2 separate regions of the Homo sapiens genome follow, and region 2 is linked to region 1. Evidence: promoter capture Hi-C in 16 types of primary human blood cells and fetal thymus (Javierre and others, 2016). All regions are on one chromosome and are shown on one strand. The core of a region is centred on a gene start or on the middle of the fragment in contact, and the rest is flanking DNA. Distances in the headings are between cores, read along the strand shown. Region 1 holds the start of ACTRT3 (actin related protein T3). Region 2 overlaps SEC62 (SEC62 preprotein translocation factor).

What was found. Contacts are between HindIII fragments. The CHiCAGO score rates a contact against its expected background, and 5 or more counts as called.
Region 2: a contact is called between a fragment that was not itself captured here and the fragment with the promoter of ACTRT3 in region 1, in 2 of 17 cell types (naive CD4 T cells and activated CD4 T cells). The highest score is 6.0, in naive CD4 T cells.

Annotation. Positions count from the first base shown.
Region 1 is chr3:169,765,362-169,771,000 of GRCh38, reverse strand. ACTRT3 (actin related protein T3) reads left to right here and starts at 1,440. Exons shown (of 2, transcript NM_032487.5): 1 at 1,440-1,680; 2 at 2,651-4,080. The coding sequence starts at 1,481. The coding sequence ends at 3,569. RefSeq lists cis regulatory regions at 1,288, 2,645, enhancers at 1,216-1,360, 1,452-1,711, 2,573-2,717, a silencer at 1,302-1,371 and promoters at 5,505-5,639, 5,143-5,639. The HindIII fragment of the contact is 4,942 bases long and covers 1-3,884 here.
Region 2 is chr3:169,984,928-169,990,612 of GRCh38, reverse strand. It overlaps SEC62 (SEC62 preprotein translocation factor), which reads right to left. Exons shown (of 8, transcript NM_003262.4): 6 at 4,748-4,808; 7 at 2,254-2,373. Among named protein-coding and RNA genes, the nearest start is that of SEC62, 21 kb to the right of the region's middle. The HindIII fragment of the contact is 1,341 bases long and covers 2,177-3,517 here.

The DNA of each region.
Region 1 (5,639 bases), core at 191-2,690:
ATTTTTATATATTTATGATATATAAATATAAATTTTTATATATTTATGATATATAAATATAAATTTTTATTTATGATATCTAAATATAAATTTTTATTTATGATATCTAAATATAAATTTTTATTTATGATATCTAAATATAAATTTTTATTTATGATATCTAAATATAAATTTTTATTTATGATATCTAAATATAAATTTTTATATATGATATCTAAATATAAATTTTTATATATGATATCTAAATATAAATTTTTATATATGATATCTAAATATAAATTTTTATATATGATATCTAAATATAAATTTTTATATATGATATCTAAATATAAATTTTTATATATGATATATAAATATAAATTTTTATATATGATATATAAATATAAATTTTTATATATTTATGATATATAAATATAAATTTTTATATATTTATGATATATAAATATAAATTTTTATATATTTATATTTATGATATATAAATATAAATTTTTATATATTTATATTTATGATATATAAATATAAATTTTTATATATTTATATTTATGATATATAAATATAAATTTTTATATATTTATATTTATACATATAATAAATATAAATATAAATTTTTATATATTTATATTTATACATATAATAAATATAAATATATATATTTCGATTTATATCCTTGCTTAAATATATAAATATATATTTTATAAATATATAAATATATTTATATAATATAACATATATTTATATAAATTATATAAATTTATATATTTTTTAATATTTTATATTTAAATTTATATATATTTATATAAATATATATAAATTTATATTTATTTACATATTTAAGCTAGGAACTACTATTTTGTTTTAATTGCGTACATTTTGCTTGGAAATCACAGGAAGAAACACAACAAAGCATTGCCCAAGGTACAGAAACAATAATAAACGTACTTAAAACTCATTTAAATTCCAGCATTTTTCTCCTTATTTTAGAAGTTTAACATTTCAGAAGCAGACACTGCCTCCCTTCCTGCAACAACTTTCTCCTCTTAAGTCTCATTTTTCCCCAGTTTCAAGGGCGAATTCTAGAACTCCCCGGAACCGCCACCAGTTAACCAGAATTCCGTGGCTTTGGAAAATAAAACTGCTGTTATAGCTCTTCTGGGTATTTGAGAAATGCACTTGTGAAGGGTTAGAGTTGAATCTTTTGATGCGAAAGTCGGGTTTTCCTGATACTGGGATTCCGGGATTCCAGGTGTTGGGGTGGCCCAATTCCTGCGAGAAGCAATAGCGGGCGGTAACATGAGGAGCACGGTGCGTCCAGCGAGTCCTTCCGCCTGGGGCCCTGCCGACCCCCTGCCTGCGCCCCCAGGACTCTGGCCTCACCCGGCCGTGCCGGGGCCTCTGTGACGCGGCGTTCCAGGCACTCGGCCCCGGCCGAGCCCGTAGCTAGAGCGGCTCAGAGACAGGAGGCGGCGGCAGCAGCGGCGGCATGAACCACTGCCAGCTACCGGTGGTGATCGACAACGGCTCGGGAATGATCAAGGCGGGCGTGGCTGGGTGCCGGGAGCCCCAGTTTATCTACCCGAACATTATCGGCCGCGCCAAGGGCCAGAGCCGCGCGGCCCAGGGCGGGCTAGAACTCTGCGTGGGCGACCAAGCTCAGGACTGGAGGAGCTCGCTGTTCATCAGGTACCTCCTTCTCCCAGCAGGCTGCTGGGGCTGGGGAGGGTGGGTGGGGTGGGGGTGGGGTAGGGTGGGGCTGGGGAGGTTGGGGGGTGGGGCTGGGGTGGCTGGGGGTGGGGGGACTGGGGGTGTTGTCGGGGGGCAGGAAAGGACCCCAAAGGAGGTGCGCAATGGGGACAGAAAGAATAAGAAAGCCGGGAGCTGGAAAGCCCCATCCAGCTGGAATTACTACAAACGCACGGGCCACAAATCTCCAAGGGTACCACACATCTAAAAACTGAACATTTTGCTCTCTGTGGCTATACAAATGTATTAAAACGTATAAAGTTATCGAACGAATTCATTTAAGAATATTAACTCATGGTCCCTTTTGTCACTTGGGTTATTCTCTTCAATTGACATTTAAACTATACTATAATGTGGACATTTCCCAATTTTTTAAAAGTCACAAGGTTCCAAAGGACAGAGAAAATGGAAAGCAACAAAAATCGCAGAGGTAGGCCGGGCGCGGTGGCTCACGCCTGTAATCCTAGCACTTTGGGAGGCCGAGCAGGGCGGATCACGAGGTCAGGAGTTCGAGACCATCGTGGCTAACACGGTGAAACCCCGTCTCTACTAAAAATACAAAAAAATTAGCCGGGCGTGGTGGCGCGCGCCTGTAGTCCCAGCTACTCAGGAGACTGAGGCAGGAGAATGGCGTGAACCCGGGAGGCGGAGCTTGCAGTGAGCTGAGATCGCGCCACTGCACTCCAGCCTGGGTGACAGAGCGAGACTCTGTCTCCAAAAAAAAAAAAAAAAATTGCAGAGGTAAGTAGCTGTGCTATTTTTGGCTGACACTTACCTGCTGTGAGAGGCTGTGGCAGTTATTGCCCATAAAGGGATATTGGTAATAAACGCGGGGAATTAACTGAGGGTCGAAGACAATAGAAACTAGAAAAATAAAAAGCTGTCATTGATCTTATTGCTTTCCTTACAGTTACCCAGTGGAGCGTGGTCTCATTACTTCATGGGAGGACATGGAGATCATGTGGAAGCATATCTATGACTATAACCTAAAGCTGAAGCCGTGTGATGGCCCAGTCTTGATTACTGAGCCAGCGCTGAACCCACTGGCCAACCGGCAACAGATCACGGAAATGTTTTTTGAGCATCTGGGTGTTCCTGCCTTCTATATGTCCATCCAGGCTGTGCTGGCTCTCTTTGCTGCTGGCTTCACTACTGGCCTTGTGCTGAATTCAGGTGCTGGGGTTACCCAGAGTGTGCCCATCTTTGAGGGTTACTGTCTGCCTCATGGTGTGCAGCAACTGGATCTGGCAGGCCTTGACCTCACCAACTACCTCATGGTGCTAATGAAGAACCATGGTATCATGTTGCTCAGTGCTTCAGACAGAAAGATTGTTGAAGACATCAAGGAGAGCTTTTGTTATGTGGCAATGAACTACGAAGAGGAAATGGCCAAGAAACCCGATTGTCTAGAGAAAGTTTACCAACTACCTGATGGGAAGGTCATCCAGCTCCATGACCAGCTCTTTTCTTGTCCAGAGGCCCTCTTCTCTCCGTGTCATATGAACCTTGAGGCCCCTGGCATTGATAAGATATGCTTCAGCAGCATAATGAAATGTGATACAGGCCTGAGGAATTCCTTCTTTTCCAATATTATCCTTGCCGGGGGATCAACCTCTTTCCCTGGTTTAGACAAGCGGTTAGTTAAGGATATAGCAAAGGTGGCTCCTGCCAACACCGCTGTGCAAGTTATAGCTCCTCCAGAAAGGAAAATATCAGTGTGGATGGGAGGTTCTATTCTTGCATCCTTGTCTGCCTTCCAGGACATGTGGATCACTGCTGCAGAATTTAAAGAAGTTGGACCCAACATAGTACACCAAAGATGCTTCTGAAATACAGATAAAATGGTTGGAAGAAAATGTTTTGAGTATATGTGACAGAAAACTTTGGATATTATATGTTTCTGGGAGAAGAGAAAATACTTCACCTATTGGGATGCCAATATTTCTGTTGTATTTCTATAATGGGTTTGGGGGATAATAATGGTGAAGCTCAAGAACAGATGTCTATTGAGTAGAACCAAGTTAAAATAATGTTTCCCATAGTGTTTCTTCTATAACTTGACGTTGGTGAGCTTATATTTCCCTTGGAAGAGAGCATTTGTGGTACAATATGCTATGTGCCAAATGAGTGATAAGATTTAAGCTTATTGAAGTTTAGGGAAAGAAGGTTGCTGTGGTGAGGAACGAGACTCCATAGCAGAGGTATGCCATCATGGAAGGGGTGGCATTGGGATGGAGCGCAGATATCCAGGCAAGCATACTAAAATGAACAAGTTGCTAAAGATGAGAATGAACAAAGCATATTCAGGGCATGTTTAATAGACTGATTTTGTTTTTAAAATTTTTGTTTATGTATGTATTTATTCATTTATTTAGTTTTAGAGGCAGAGTCTTGCCCTGTGTCCCAGGCTGGAGTGCAGTAGTGCAATCATAGCTCACTGCAGCCTCCAACTCCTGGGCTCTGCCCTCAGCCTCCCAAGTAACTGAATCCACAGGTATGCACCACCACGCCTAAGTTTAGACTGATTTTGTTCAAGTCAAGAGCTCATATAGAGCAGAACAAGCGCTATGACTAGCAAGGTTAAGTGAAGGCCAGGGACTGAAAGGCTTAAAGTGCTAAATATCCAATATGCAAAGGAGAGAAATTAAAGATTTAAAAGCAGGAGCCATAAGGAAACTATGTTATGATGAATGTGATAGTTTGGAGAATAAATTGAATGAGGAAGGCCCTGGAGATTTGGTGATCAGTTAGAAAGTTACTAGTCCACATATAAAGTGCCAAGTCTTGTACTCAAGATTATAAGCAATAGGAATTTAAAAAAAGAAATTATGAAAACTGACAAGATTTAGTGCCTACTTAGATATGAAGGGGAAAGAAGGGTTTGAGATAATGTGGGATGCTAAGAGAATGGTGGTAGTGTTGACATATAACTCAAAGCATTTAGCATCTACTCTATGTAAGGTACTGTGCTAAGTGCAATAGTGCTAAAAACAGGAGTCAGATTCTGTCCGTAAAAAACTTTACAACCTGGCAGATGCTATGAAAGAAAAAGGGGATGGGAGAGAGAGAAGGAGGGAGAGAGATGGAGAGGGAGATATTTTACTTTTCTTTCAGATCGAGGACCGACAGCGACAACTCCACGGAGTTTATCTAACTGAATACGAGTAAAACTTTTAAGATCATCCTGTCATTTATATGTAAAACTGCACTATACTGGCCATTATAAAAATTCGCGGCCGGGTGCGGTGGCTCATACCTGTAATCCCAGCACTTTGGGAGGCCGAAGCGGGTGGATCACTTGAGCCCTGGCGTTCGAGACCAGCCTGGGCAACATGGTGAAACCCCCGTCTCTACTAAAAACACAAAAACTAGCTGGGCGTGGTGGCAGGCGCCTGTAATCCCAGCTACTCAGGAGGCTGAGACACGAGAATCGCTTGAACCCGGGAGGCAGAGGTTGCAGTGAGCCGAGATCACGCCACTAGACTCCATCCAGCCTGGGCGAAAGAGCAAGACTCCGTCTCAAAAAAAAAAATCGTTACAATTTATGGTGGATTACTCCCCTCTTTTTACCTCATCAAGACACAGCACTACTTTAAAGCAAAGTCAATGATTGAAACGCCTTTCTTTCCTAATAAAAGGGAGATTCAGTCCTTAAGATTAATAATGTAGTAGTTACACTTGATTAAAGCCATCCTCTGCTCAAGGAGAGGCTGGAGAAGGCATTCTAAGGAGAAGGGGGCAGGGTAGGAACTCGGACGCATCCCACTGAGCCGAGACAAGATTCTGCTGTAGTCAGTGCTGCCTGGGAATCTATTTTCACAAAGTTCTCCAAAAAATGTGATGATCAAAACTAGGAATTAGTGTTCTGTGTCTTAGGCCCTAAAATCTTCCTGTGAATT
Region 2 (5,685 bases), core at 1,598-4,097, 220 kb before region 1:
GACAGATGATTCATAATATGAAATCTTGTATCAAACCAAAGAAAAAGCAATATAGAAATGGCACTAACCTAATTTCTTATCACATACAAATGGTATGGCAAAATGTTCATGTTTTACAGTTTTTCGCTATGTGGCACTAGATTACCGAGAGTGAAAAGGGAAGAATTATGGGGAAGCTGTGACATGTACTATAATAACATTCCTATGCTAAAAGCGACAGATTTTAGAAAACTGCCAAAGGTTTTATTTTAAATGGCATTATTAATAATGCATATTCAAAGAAACACCAGATATAATTGTGACCAATACATAATATTTCAAGACCCTGACTTTAAAAAAAAAAATTAGCTAGGCATGGCAACATGCTCCTATAGTCCCAGCTATTCAGGAGGCTAAGGTGGGAGGGCTGCTTGAGCCCAGGAGTTTGAGGGTACAGTGAGCTATGATTCTGCCATGGTACTTTACCCTGGGCAACAGAGCAAGACCCTGTCTCCAAAAAATGAATATATATAAAAATATATTTCATATAAATATGAGATATCATATAATATATATGACATATCATATGATATATATTATATGATATATATGATATATAATATTATGATATATCATATATCTATATATCATATATATTCATATATAATATACATGATATATATTATATGCGATATACATAATATATATAAAGACTTCAAAGAATAATATAAAAGAAATATCTAATTATTTGAAAGTATATTTGGAATTGCATTTTCTAAGAGAATCAAAATAAAATGTTGGGTTTGTTTCCTGGTATAATTCAGAAGACTATTTGGTTCATAATGCATATTTAAATCCACAGCATATTTACAATGAAAATTTATTTAAAGAGACTACTGAAGAAACAATATTTTAAACAGCAAAACTACATAATAACCATAAACTATTGTGAACACTGGTTTAATTTAAAAATAAGCAAGTAGAATAATTCTATTCAGTGGAGCTAAACCTTTGCTAAAAATTTCCAAGGAGTTTCTAAATTTCAGGAATTTGAAAGGCAAAAAGCACCAATTTTATTATGTCTAATGTCAGATCAAAGTTTATGACTTTTCCTTCTTGATGCAGGTATTACACTGACACTAAATTCAAACAGGCTTAGATATTGTTTCTTGGCCTACAAATGTGCCCGTGTTCCATGCAAAACCAGCAGGGGATTTTTCTGCTGCCAGAGGTTACCAAATCAGAGGAAGGAGGCTGGGCGTGGTGGTTCACGCCTGTAATCCCAACACTTTGGGAGGCCAAGGAGGGCAGATCACCTGAGGTCAGGAGTTCGAGACTAGCCTGGGCAGAGTGATACCCTATCTCCCCCACAAAAAGCCAGGCATGATGAAATGCACCAGTACTCCTAGCTACTTGGGAGGCTGAGGCAGGAGGATTGCTTAAGCCCAGGAATTCAAGGCTGCAGTGAGCTATGATCTCACCACTGCACTTCAGCTTGGGTGACAGAGCAAGACCCTGCCTCTAAACAAATAATCTATGAAAGACCCCAATCATCCAGAAATGCGGAAAATTCATTTACTTATGTTTTCCTATTTGATTTTTAAAACATTAACTCCTTATTGCATCTAGTATTTTGGTACTTGGGTGAAAATTATTGATTTTTCCCAAAATGGCAAATCAATTGTTTAGAATCATTTATTAAATATATGCATAGATTATTTAGATGTTGCATTTGTTCTAAGTCAAAATTAAAAAATGTTTTACTGAAAGTATTATGTCTAATAAATGATCTACCACTGCAAAAATATTAAACGCCTCTGCCATAACTAATTTTTAAAGCACATCTATTTGCAGATTAAGATATAATAATGTATGGTATATTTCAAAATAAGTAAATTTCAAATGTCTCACAATAAATGATAGGCAAGAAAGGTGATCAATATGCTAATTATGTTAATTAGCTTGATTTAAACATTCCACATTGTACACATACACCAAAACATCACATTGTACCCCATAAATGTATACAATTATGATCTGTCAATAAAAAATAATCTTATTAAAAAATTTTTTTAAAGATGTATTAAATCCTTTTTCTGCAGACAGAACACATCTTACCAAGCCTGAGTTTTGAGATTTGACTCAGAAAGTAGTACCATATATTTCTTGATTTACCTCCATTAATTTTTCTTAAGCTTTACTGAAGCTCCAAATTACAGTCCAACTGCTCAATACCAACCTTCTTGAGGTCAATTTTATAATAACAATACTTACCAACAGCAAGGAGAAGAATACTGGCTACAAAACAGCCTGCACCCACACTGAGGTAATAAACACCTACTCTCATTTCTGCTGGCCAAAGGGGGAAGAGGGTGGCCGCTATTACTGCAATCACTGGAACAAGAAATGACAAAAGTTAAATTTTAGAATAAAAACTTAAATGGTATGGCTGCACTAACAGAAACATATCCCTGGGGGAAAAACTGAGAAACATAAACACAGTGAAATATAAAATTGCCATTTTTATAGGTAAAAAATGGTCAATTATGAGCAATTTCATATTGTTCAACCTAACATTTTATACTATTCTTAAACTAGTTTTTATTAGTGTAAATTACATATAATTAGAAAAAAATGCTATGTAGAAATTCAAAACTGTTGCCTCCTTAATTTATCAACTGCCCCCTTTTTCAAGCTATATCTACTTTATTTAAAAAATACTAAGATATTTGCCTACTAAGTAAGGGAGCTAAAAGAAACAACAGAACAACAAAGCCAACAAAAAATGATTTCCAAGACCCCTCTCTGGAGATTCTTCTTCTGGGGTGGAGCTCTGACATCCACAGACTGAAAGATTCCCCAGGTGATTTCTGCTACAGATGTATTTTTTGGTGCTTAGGGAAACTGTTTACAAGTGTCTCCAGTTTTTTTGCAAGTAAAGTGGGGACACAAGAAAGAATTATAAGAAATTAGAAGCCTGGTTATTAGGTCTTTAGAATAAGACCAGGATTAAAATTCTAGCTCCATCACTTATAAGCTATGTAACCCTGGGCAAGTTACTTAACTCTTTTGAGGCTAAGTTACCTTATATTTAATAAGTCTCTTCCTATTCTTCAAAGGTTGTTGTGAGGATGAAATGATATATTGTACGCAAAATATCTAGCAAAGTGACTAGTACTCTTATTATAAAAGAGTTATTTTGCTTTTTGTTTTCTGAAACAGAGTCTTACTCTGTCACCCAGGCTGCAGTACAGTGGCATGATCTTGGCTCACGACAGCCTCGACCTCCTGAGCTTAGGTGATCCTCCCACCTCAGCCTTCTAAGTAGTTGGGACTACAGGTGTGAACCACCACACCCGGCTAATTTTTTGTAGAAACGAGGTTTCGCCATGTTGCCTAGGCTGGTTTCGAACCCTTGGATTCAAGCCATCTCCCTGCCTTGGCCTCCTAAAGTGTTAGGATTACAAGTGTGAGCCACTGAGCCCAGCCTTAAAGAGTTATTTTGAATGGGATCCTATCATACCATATTGACCAAGCTTATTTTAACTGCTACCTATTTTTTTTTTTTCTGTTTGTTAAATCATTCTTTCCCCATAAAACCTCCTGGAATACACACGTTAAAAAGCAAATCAAAAACAAATCAAACCCCCAGCACTTTGGGACAACGAGGCAAGTGCCCAGGAGTTTGAGACCAGCCTGGGCAACATGGCGAAACCCCATCTCTACAAAAAAATACAAAAATTAGCGGGGTGTAGTGGAGTGTGCCTATAGTTCCAGCTACTCAGTAGGCTGATGTGGGAGATCACCTGACCCCAGCAAGTCGGGCTGCAGTGAGCCATGATTGTGCCATTGCATTCCAGCCTGGGTGACAGGAATGAGACCCTGTCACAAACAAGCAAATCAAAAGGTATAGAGAAAATTAAGTCTTCATCTAATTCTTATTCCACTTCCCAGAGGTTAAGTACTATTAAGCTTACCTGTATTCTCAGAGACTGCCTATATATAATTAACTAGCTACAGGGACTTTTTTTCTAAATAAGTAAATGAGCTTATACTATTCTTACTCGTCTGTAACTTTCTTTTCTTTTTTTATCTATTCTAGGTATAATATCCTTGCACATGTACGTTTGTGCAACTGTGATTATGGCATAGGGTAAATTCCTTAAAGTGGAATTTATTAGATCAAATGGTATAAGCATTTTGAATTTGAAAGATATTTGCTAGATTATACTCAAGTATAGTCTAAGGGATTTGGAAAAAAACAGATAATGTGTCAATGCACACACTTTGTGCAACTGTATGGGAACAGCCTAGAATTGCTGGGTCACTGCAGACACATAAAATTTCAAAGATACTGACAAACTGCCCTTTACAAAAATTAAAACAATAGACATACCTATCAACTGTTAGAGAGAGCTGATTTTTTTCTAAGACCTTTAATGTTAAGGTTTGCAAGACTCTTAATCACTACAGCTTTAATTTGTATATGAGTGTGATTAAGTATCACTCATGATGATTGGTCATTGTATTTCTTTATCTGTTAACTACCTTGACCATTTTTCTATCAGTTTGTTAATCTCTTAAAAGATCTTTAATATGTTTCAAATATTTTCCTTAGTGTATTATTTATCTTCTGACTTTATTTAAAGTATTTTTAAAATGACAACTATTTTATGTTAAATTTAGGAACATTTTCTTTTACAGTATCTGCATATTGTTTTCTAAATTTTAGATTGCACTTTATAGCTATTAACATCTCACTACTTACCAAGAATTAATCCCATGACAAATGTTTTAAAGTGAACTGGGTCATAGATCCATACATACACCTAGAAGAATCAAGAAACCTCGGTGCTTAAAAGTTCTAATGTCACATTAGAAAGTAATGCTTAATTCTATATTTTAGGTCCCTTAAAGCAGTCATCAACCTCTTAACATACGAGAAGTAATTTCTAAGGTAAATAAATTCCAAAGATCTTTCCTTCAGTAGTAGTGGTTCTTCTGGCGCTAGAAAATGATTATAGGATAACTATAAATTCTATAAAGCACTTAAGTAAATTTGTATGTTCTTACATACACTTAAAAATTTGTTTGACTGGGCTTGGTGGCTCACGCCTATAATCCCAGCACTTTGGAGGCCAAGGCGGGCAGATCACTTGAGGTCAGGAGTTCAAGACAAGCCTGGCCAACATGGTGAAACCCTGCCTCTACTAAAAATACAAAAATTAGCCAGGTGTGGTGGTGGACGCTTGTAATCCCAGCTACTCGGGAGGCTGAGGCAGGAGAATTGCTTGAACCCAGGAGGCAGAGGTTGCAGTTAGCTGAGATCACACCACTGCACTCCAGCATGGGCGACAGAGCAAGACTCTGTCTTGGGGGAAAAAAAAATTGTTCCATGTGTGCACATCATTATTTATTCAACCAAAACACCAGCAACTGCCAACCTTTTTGTCCCTAATGTAATGATGAACCAGTCTGGGATAAAAGCGCAGTTAAGACAGATTCCAGCCAGGCCCTATTACAGATCTAGTATCACTCAACTCCACACTTTTCTCTCCTGAGAAGACACAAAGATCAATTATTAAAGATCATGCTTGGTGAACATAGTCTCTATGACTGTATTAATTTCATTGCCTACTCCTCCATGGAGGGCCCATAAGCTGGGAACCACTACTTCAAAACTTAATTTACTTTTATCAGGCTCTT